Regions from separate parts of the Homo sapiens genome. Here region 2 is linked to region 1. The links are contacts of gene promoters, found by promoter capture Hi-C in blood cells and fetal thymus (Javierre and others, 2016). All regions are on one chromosome and are shown on one strand. Each heading gives the region's core, a stretch centred on a gene start or on the middle of the fragment in contact. The rest is flanking DNA. Distances are from core to core; before and after follow the strand shown. Region 1 holds the start of SLC27A3 (solute carrier family 27 member 3). Region 2 overlaps NUP210L (nucleoporin 210 like).

Region 1 (3,647 bases), core at 442-2,941:
TCTTCAGATGACTGATCCGAGCAGCCTTGGGGAGGCCTGTGGGGTGGCAGTTATGGGACGATCAGGGGAAGGGCAAACTCCAAGCTCTACCTATCTGTTTGCACCCCCGCTGGGTTTCCCACAGAAAGAGGCGGAGGCAGGACAGAAGCTGAGGACCGAGACCAGGCTGTCCTGGAAATATGGGTGGTCTGGGGGAGGTGGAGAAATGAGTAGGAGGTGAGGAGACTGGGGAGTGAAATGATGGGGAGAAAAAGGATGTGCCAATGAAATCAGCATCCTCTCTGGGGGCTTTGAAGGAGTGGTCTGGGAGCAGACCCCTGCCTTCCTCTGCCTTGGTTTCGGGGAGCTAAGTATGGTGCCCGGCCCTCACCCGTGGTGCCAGAGGTGAAGATGTACAGGCACGTGTCTGTTATGCTCTGGGGGGAAGAGAGGTATCCTGGCACTGGCCCATCCACTTCAGCGGACACTTCAGCCAGCAAATCGCTAATTCCAGCAGGGTGGGTTCCTGGGCCTGCAGCCCACAGGTGGAGCCCCATGGCTCTCAGGGCGGGCAGGTCCGGCTCCAGGGACTCCAGAAACTCTAGAAGGGTGGGAAAGCACAACGCCGGGGCCCTGGCTCTACCTAGAAGAGCCTATGACCCATGTCCCCTCCCTATCCCAGCCCACACTGCTCTTGGATGAGGGTGAAGGGTATGGACATTCCATCTTGGGTCTGAGGCCTGGAACTCGACTCCTTGGGGATCCTTGGGGCACCAAAGATTCAGCCTCATCCCTTCTCAAACCCGGAGACTCCTATCTCCACCCACTTTCGAACCCCAAGGGATAGTCGGCTTCTTCCCAGGCCCAGGGATGAGACCAAGCCTTTCTGTGGTCTCCGACACGCCCCCTTCTGTGGCTGGCCCCGCCTTAGTCAGTTCGGAGCTCCAGCCTTACCTGGCGCCAGCACCAGCGCGCGCGCGCCGCAGCTGCGGAGGCAGTGCAGCAGGGGGCCCCGGCGCAGGGCGGTGGGCACAAAGGCAGTGCGCAGGCCGGCCTTGGCCAGCCCGAACCAGAGCCACAGAAACTCTGGGCCAGCGGGGAGGAGCAGCGCCACAGTTGCTCCAGGTGACAGAGGGGCGGCGGCTCCTCCACCTCTGGCGGCACCGTCCCCTCCGGCAAACTCCGCGCCGCTTCCGGCCGCTGCATCTCCGGCTCCCGGCGCTGCCCGCTCGCCTTCTCCAGCGCTCCCCTCGCCGCTGTCGCCGCCGTCGGGTCCCCAGTCCCAGCCTAGCGCACGTAGGAAGGCGCGTGCAGCCCTGTTACTCTCGCGCTCCGCCTCTGAGTAGCTAAAGCGCCGCGAGCCGTGAATGAGAAAGGTGTGCGCGGCGCGCTGCTGGGCCAGTTCCGCGAGGCGCCAGGCCAGGCTGCAGCCCCCCTCGGGACCTTCCGGGTCGGCGGCAGCCGCGGCCAGGGCGCGAGCTCGAAGAGCCCTTTTGCAGCACAGAGCTCGCACCGCAAAGGCCAAGTCCGCCGGAAGCCAGCGCAACTGCGGCCAGAGGTGTAGCTTCAGCAGCAGCAGCGGTAGCAACAGCAGCAGGGGCAGCAGCAGGAGGGCAGCCATGGAGCCCGCTTCCTCTATCGGCACCGTCTGGTTCCAGCCGCTCGCAAACATCCCTGATCCTCCCTTCCGAAAACCTAGGGCCGCTCGTTCTAGCTGAGACTTCTCCTTCCAGGGAGCGCGCGTGCGCTGGCACACGCCCATTCCCACCCAGGCCCCCACCACTCCACACGGGCGGAGAGCAGAAACCCGGGAGGAGTGCGGGTGTGGGGCGGCCCCGGACTCCCAGCCCTCCCCCCACAGCCTACGCTCCGCCCTAGGCGCGCTCCCTCCCGGACTGCTCGCGGCTCGCACCCTACCAGGTCCTGGGCGGTGCTCGCGCCTTCCCTGAATCCCAGGGTTATGTCTGTCTTCTAAGTTGTTTCTCGGCTTGGGCGGTTTAGGCATCTGGCTAAGCCCTAGAGTCCAGGCCTGAGAGCCAGGGCGTTTGGATCGCAGTCCATCTTCCCCTCAATATTTCTCGTTTTCCCGTTAAGGGAAGGTACCATTGCTCTCTCCCAAAAGAATGAACTTGGCCCCTGGCCCATTTGGTTCTGCAAGTCCCGGCCTGCCAGCCGCAACCCCAGGGGATGGGTGGGGGCTGAGAGTTAAATAGGGGAAAGGTGGAAACCCAGACTGCCAGATTTCTGAGGGGTCACGACAGAGGCCCCTCCCTTTGGGCAAGGGTACAATAATTGGGGCCAGCCAGCAAATGCTCTCCATCCTGGTTTTAATTGGGACAGAGGAAACTGGGGAAGGAGAGAGGAAGGAAAAAGAAGCCTCCAGTGGTTTAGACTTTCAAAGGAAGCAACAGCAGTGATGAGGGAGGGGAGAACCTGGATTCTGTAAAAAGACAAATTTTCGGGGTGAAGAGGAGCAGCTCTGTGCAGTTCGCCCAAACTTCACTCCTCAGTCCACCTCCATTCTCCCTGGACAGCGGGGGAACAACAGCATAGCCAAGGAACTCTCCTCTGCTGGTTCACATGGCCCAGCAAGTGGCCACACTGTGGAAGGAAGAGCATCTCTGTCCCTCCCTGGTATCCAGACTTTATCTCCAGGTACAGTTGTCCCTGGAGACCAAGCTGGAGCATCCCTCCCGTCAAGCAGCGAGTCCTCCGGCCATTCTTGGTAGGCACACAGACTTCAACTGGAGGATGACAGACCTTTTGGAAGCATCTTGTTTCTTGAGAAATGAGTAAGGACAGGCCTCATCCTACGGGGGATGGTTCTGCATAGACAGATCAGTGCCTGGCTCCCACCTCCAGTGGCAGCAGGAAGGATGGGTAGTGGCCAAAGCCAAGTCCCTTCTGCTCTAGACAAAAGTGGGGGCAGAACAGGAAGGGAAAGGGGGATGTTCTGCGGTTACAAGTAGGGGTGCCAATCAAATCAAGACCAAGCTATACATGCACGGGGCAAATGCCAGCAGACACTCCAGCACAAAAGACATTCTGGCTTGTTTTATTGTCATTTAAAAACAACTTTTAAGACACGATTATCTCTGCCAAAAAAAAAACAAAAAAAAACAAAAAAAAAAACAGACTCAAGGAAATGGGATCATTTGACAATTCTGTGAAACTTGCCTCTGGGACTCCCTGGGCTCTGGTGTAGATTGAGGTGCCAACCTCAGACCAACCTAAGCCTCCAGGGCACACCACGTGGGGCTGTGGCCACCCTTTCAGACTCCTTTCTGAATGCTTGTGGCATCTGCCCCATGATTAGGAATGGACACCCTGACCACGTCATAGATGCCCATTTCACACTGGCATGTGGATAGTGACTATAAAACGTCCCTTCAGAACAAACCAAGACCTGAAGGGGAAGCAGGAAGGGACACCCACACACTGAGTCTCTGCTCTCATCCTAGCTTATCTGGCCAGCTGCCCCTTTGTCATTTCCCTTCTCTGTTGAAATGGCTCTTTGGGAGACTGGGGGAGGAGATTGCGGAAGGGGCCAGGGGGCTGAGGACTTCCACTATGGTCTGATTTTACAGAGCCTCTGGCTTCAGTCAGATCCCAAATATCACTGGGAACAGCAGTGTGAGGGGCTGGAGGCCCCAGGAGGAGGGAAGGGG
Region 2 (3,647 bases), core at 317-2,816, 340 kb before region 1:
TTTTTTCTTTTTTTGAGACTGAGTCTTGCTCTGTTGCCCAGACTGGAGGGCAATGGCATGATCATAGCTCACTGCAGCCTCAAACTCCTAGGACTCAAGCAGTTCTCCCGCCTTGGCCTCCCAAGTAGCCAGGACTACAGATATGCACCACCCCACACAGTTAATTTATTATTTTTGTAGAGACAGGGTCTCACTGTGTTGCCCAGGCTGGTCCCAAACTCCTGGCCTCAAGTGATCCTCCTGTCTTGGCCTTCCAAAGTGCAAGGATTACAGGTGTGAGCCACTGTACCCAGCCCCATTTTTTTTTTTTTTTTCCCTGAGATGGAGTCTCACTCTGTTGCCCAGGCTGGAGTGCAGTGGCGTGATCTCAGCTCACTGCAACCTCCGCCTTTCAGGTTCAAGCAATTCTCCTGCCTCAGCCTCCTGAGTAGCTGGGACTACAGGCACCCGCCAACACACCCAACTAATTTTTTTTTTTTTTTTTTTTGAGATGGAGTCTCTTTCTGTCGCCAAGGCTGGAGTGCAGTGGTGCGATCTTGGCTCACTGCAAGCTCTGCCTCCCAGGTTCACCCCATTCTCCTGCCTCAGCCTCCCGAGTAGCTGGGACTACAGGCATGTGCCACCATGCCCGGCCAATTTTTTGTATTTTTAATAGAGATGGGGTTTCACCGTGCTAGCCAGGCTGGTCTCTATCTCCTGACCTCGTGATCCACCTGCCTCGGCCTCCCAAAGTGCTGGGATTACAGGCATGAGTCACCGCGCCCGGCCTAATTTTTTGTATTTTCAGTAGAGACGGGGTTTCACCATTATGGCCAGGCTGATCTCGAACTCCTGACCTCAAGTGATCCGCCCACCCCGGCCTTCCATAGTGGTGGGATTACAGGCATGAGCCACTGCGCCCAGCCCCAGCCCCATTTTTAATATATGTTGCTGTTCTCTATAGGACTTAATAGTTTGCCATCACTCAGTGAACATTTATTATCTCGTAGGTATTATTGGACATTCAGAGATACATAACACATGATCCCTATCTTAAAGTATTTAAAGTATAACTAGGAAGATATATTGACATGAAAAAAGTCAAATAACATTTTAAGAAAATGATATGTGAGATATTTAAAGCCCTGTATGACTGAGAACTACTTGAATTGTACAGTAAGTGCTATTAGTTTGTAAAAGAGAAATCCTTGTGTATGGGACTATCAGAGACTATTATGAAAGAGGTGGGAACTTCAATAAGACTTTTGGAGGATGGAATAAAAGTAAGGCCCAAAGGTCAAATTTAGAGTGCTTCCTTATTTGGTAAATAAACTTTTTTCAGAACACAGCTACTCCCATTCATTTACATATTGTCTGTGGCTGCTTTCAAGCCACAGCTGCTGAGTTAGTAGTTACCACGGAGACTGTGTAGCCTCAATAAGTCTAAAATGTTTACTATCTAGCTCTTTACAGAAAGCTTTGCCAATCCTTGCTGTAGACAATGGGGAACCAATACAGGCTTTTAACAGGTCAATGGTATGGTAAGGTCTCTGTTCTGAAAGATATCTAATTATTTTTATAATCAGACAATAACAGCCATTATACTAAAAAACAAAAGATACTTGCTGGTGCTATAGACTAGTAGATTAGAATGGATTGAAGGGAGAAAGTGAAGGCAAAAACTTCAGTTAAGCTTGAACTAGTGAGATGGTATTGAGAATAGCAGGAAATGGACCAAATGATAATCTTTTTTAACAGGTAAATCAATCCGATTTGATTGAGCAGGGAAGAGTTAAACATTTAAAGCCACAGAGATGATGTGGAGGTTTCTCACTTTGCCAGCGGGGTGGATAGAAAATACAAGAGGCTGGGAGTGGTGGCTTACACATGTAATCCCAACACCTTTGAGTGGCCAAGGCAGGAGAGTGGCTTGAGGCCAGGAGTTCGAGACCAGCCTGGACAACAAAGCAAGACCCCCCCCCCCATCTCTTAAAAAAAAAATTAACCAGGCATAGTGGCACATGCCTGTAGTCCTAGCTACTGAGGCAGGAGGGTCGCTTGAGGCCAGGAGTTTGAGGTTGCGGTGAACTATGATCACGCCTCTGCACTCTAGCTTAGGCAAGAGTGAGACCCTGTCTTTAAAAAAAGAAAAGAAAATACAAAAAAATGGAAAAGATGATGAATTTAGTTTTGGATACATTTAGCGTAATTCACCTATGGAGCATCTAAGTGGATGTTTTTAATTGGAAATAGGGGTCTGAAGTTCAACTGAAAGATTAGGGCTGGAGAGTTTGCATATGGTTAGTCACTGAAGCTTTGGGACTGGATAAGTTTTCCCAGGAAGAACATATGGATCCTGTGTAATGTAAATGTCACTTTAAGAAACATAGGAAGAGGAACTAGCAGAAGAAACATAGAAAGTGGCAAAAATGACAAAATAAAAGATTTTATTTTATTTTATTTATTAATTTTTTTGAGATGGGGTTTCTGTTGCCCAGGTTCAATGCAGTGGCACAATCGTGGCCTACTCCAGCCTTGACCTCAAGCAATCCTCCCACCTCAGCCTTCCAAGTAGCTGGGACGTGTACCACTACGCCTGGCAAATTTTTTTTTTTTTTTTGAGATGGAGTCTTGCGCTGTTGCCCAGGCTGGAGTGCAGTGGTGCGATCTTGGCTCATTGCAACCTCCGCCTCTCGAGTTCAAGCAATTCTCCTGCCTCAGCCTCCCGAGTAGCTGGGATTACAGGCGCCCACTACCACGCCCAGCTAATTTTTGTATTTTTAGTAGAGACGGGGTTTCACCATGTTAGCCAGGCTGGTCTTGAACTTCTGAACTCGGCCTCCCAAAGTGCTGGGATTACAGGTGTGAGCCACCACACCCGGCTTTTTTTTTTTTTTTTTTTTTTGAGATGGAGTCTTGCTCTGTTGTCCAAGCTGGAGTGCCGTGGCCAGATCTCAGCTCACTGCAACCTCCACCTCCCAGGTTCAAGCGATTCTCCTGCTTCAGCCTCCTGAGTAGCTGGAATTACAGGCACGTGCCACCACGCCTGGCTAATTTTTGTATTTTTAGTAGAGACGGGGTTTCACCATATTGGCCAGGCTGGTGTTGAATTCCTGACCTTGTGATCTGCCCGCCTTGGCCTCCCAAAATGCTGGGATTACAGGCGTGAGCCACCACGCCTGGCCTAATACATTAGTCTTTACAGGCCACATATAGTTACTATCTCATATTCTTTTTTGTGGTTGTTATTGTTTTATTTTACAACCTTTTAAAAATGTAAAAACTGTTCTTAGCTCATTGTACAAAAACAGGTTGTATACAGGCCGTAGTTTGCCAGACCCCTCCTACATGGAGTTAGATGCTTTAAAGAGATCAATAAATTTAAAAATGTAGAGTGATATGTTTAGCACCTTGTGGGTGTGTTTATGTGTGTGTGTGCGTATATAAAAGAGACCTGGACCATTACATTGTGTATAATAGTAAATAACATATATATATATATAATGTATTTATATATGTTCATGTGTATGTAAATATTTAAGGAATGATTTCTTCTTTTTCTTAACAGTTTTAAATTTTATATATATATATATATTTTTTTTTTTAAGAGAGGGTTTCTCTCCCATCACCCCGGCTGGAGTGCAGTGGTACACTCTCAGCTCATTACA

Evidence for each region. Contacts are between HindIII fragments. The CHiCAGO score rates a contact against its expected background, and 5 or more counts as called.
Region 2: a contact is called between a fragment that was not itself captured here and the fragment with the promoter of SLC27A3 in region 1, in 1 of 17 cell types (activated CD4 T cells). The highest score is 5.6, in activated CD4 T cells.

Annotation. Positions count from the first base shown.
Region 1 is chr1:153,773,451-153,777,097 of GRCh38, reverse strand. SLC27A3 (solute carrier family 27 member 3) reads right to left here and starts at 1,691. Exons shown (of 10, transcript NM_024330.4): 1 at 934-1,691; 2 at 371-580; 3 at 1-36. The coding sequence starts at 1,600. It overlaps INTS3 (integrator complex subunit 3), which reads right to left. Exons shown (of 30, transcript NM_023015.5): 30 at 2,290-3,647. RefSeq lists a silencer at 1,064-1,255 and an enhancer at 624-1,290. The HindIII fragment of the contact is 7,576 bases long and covers 1-3,647 here.
Region 2 is chr1:154,113,095-154,116,741 of GRCh38, reverse strand. All of the region lies in intron 12 of NUP210L (nucleoporin 210 like), which reads left to right. Among named protein-coding and RNA genes, the nearest start is that of MIR5698, 10 kb to the right of the region's middle. The HindIII fragment of the contact is 216 bases long and covers 1,459-1,674 here.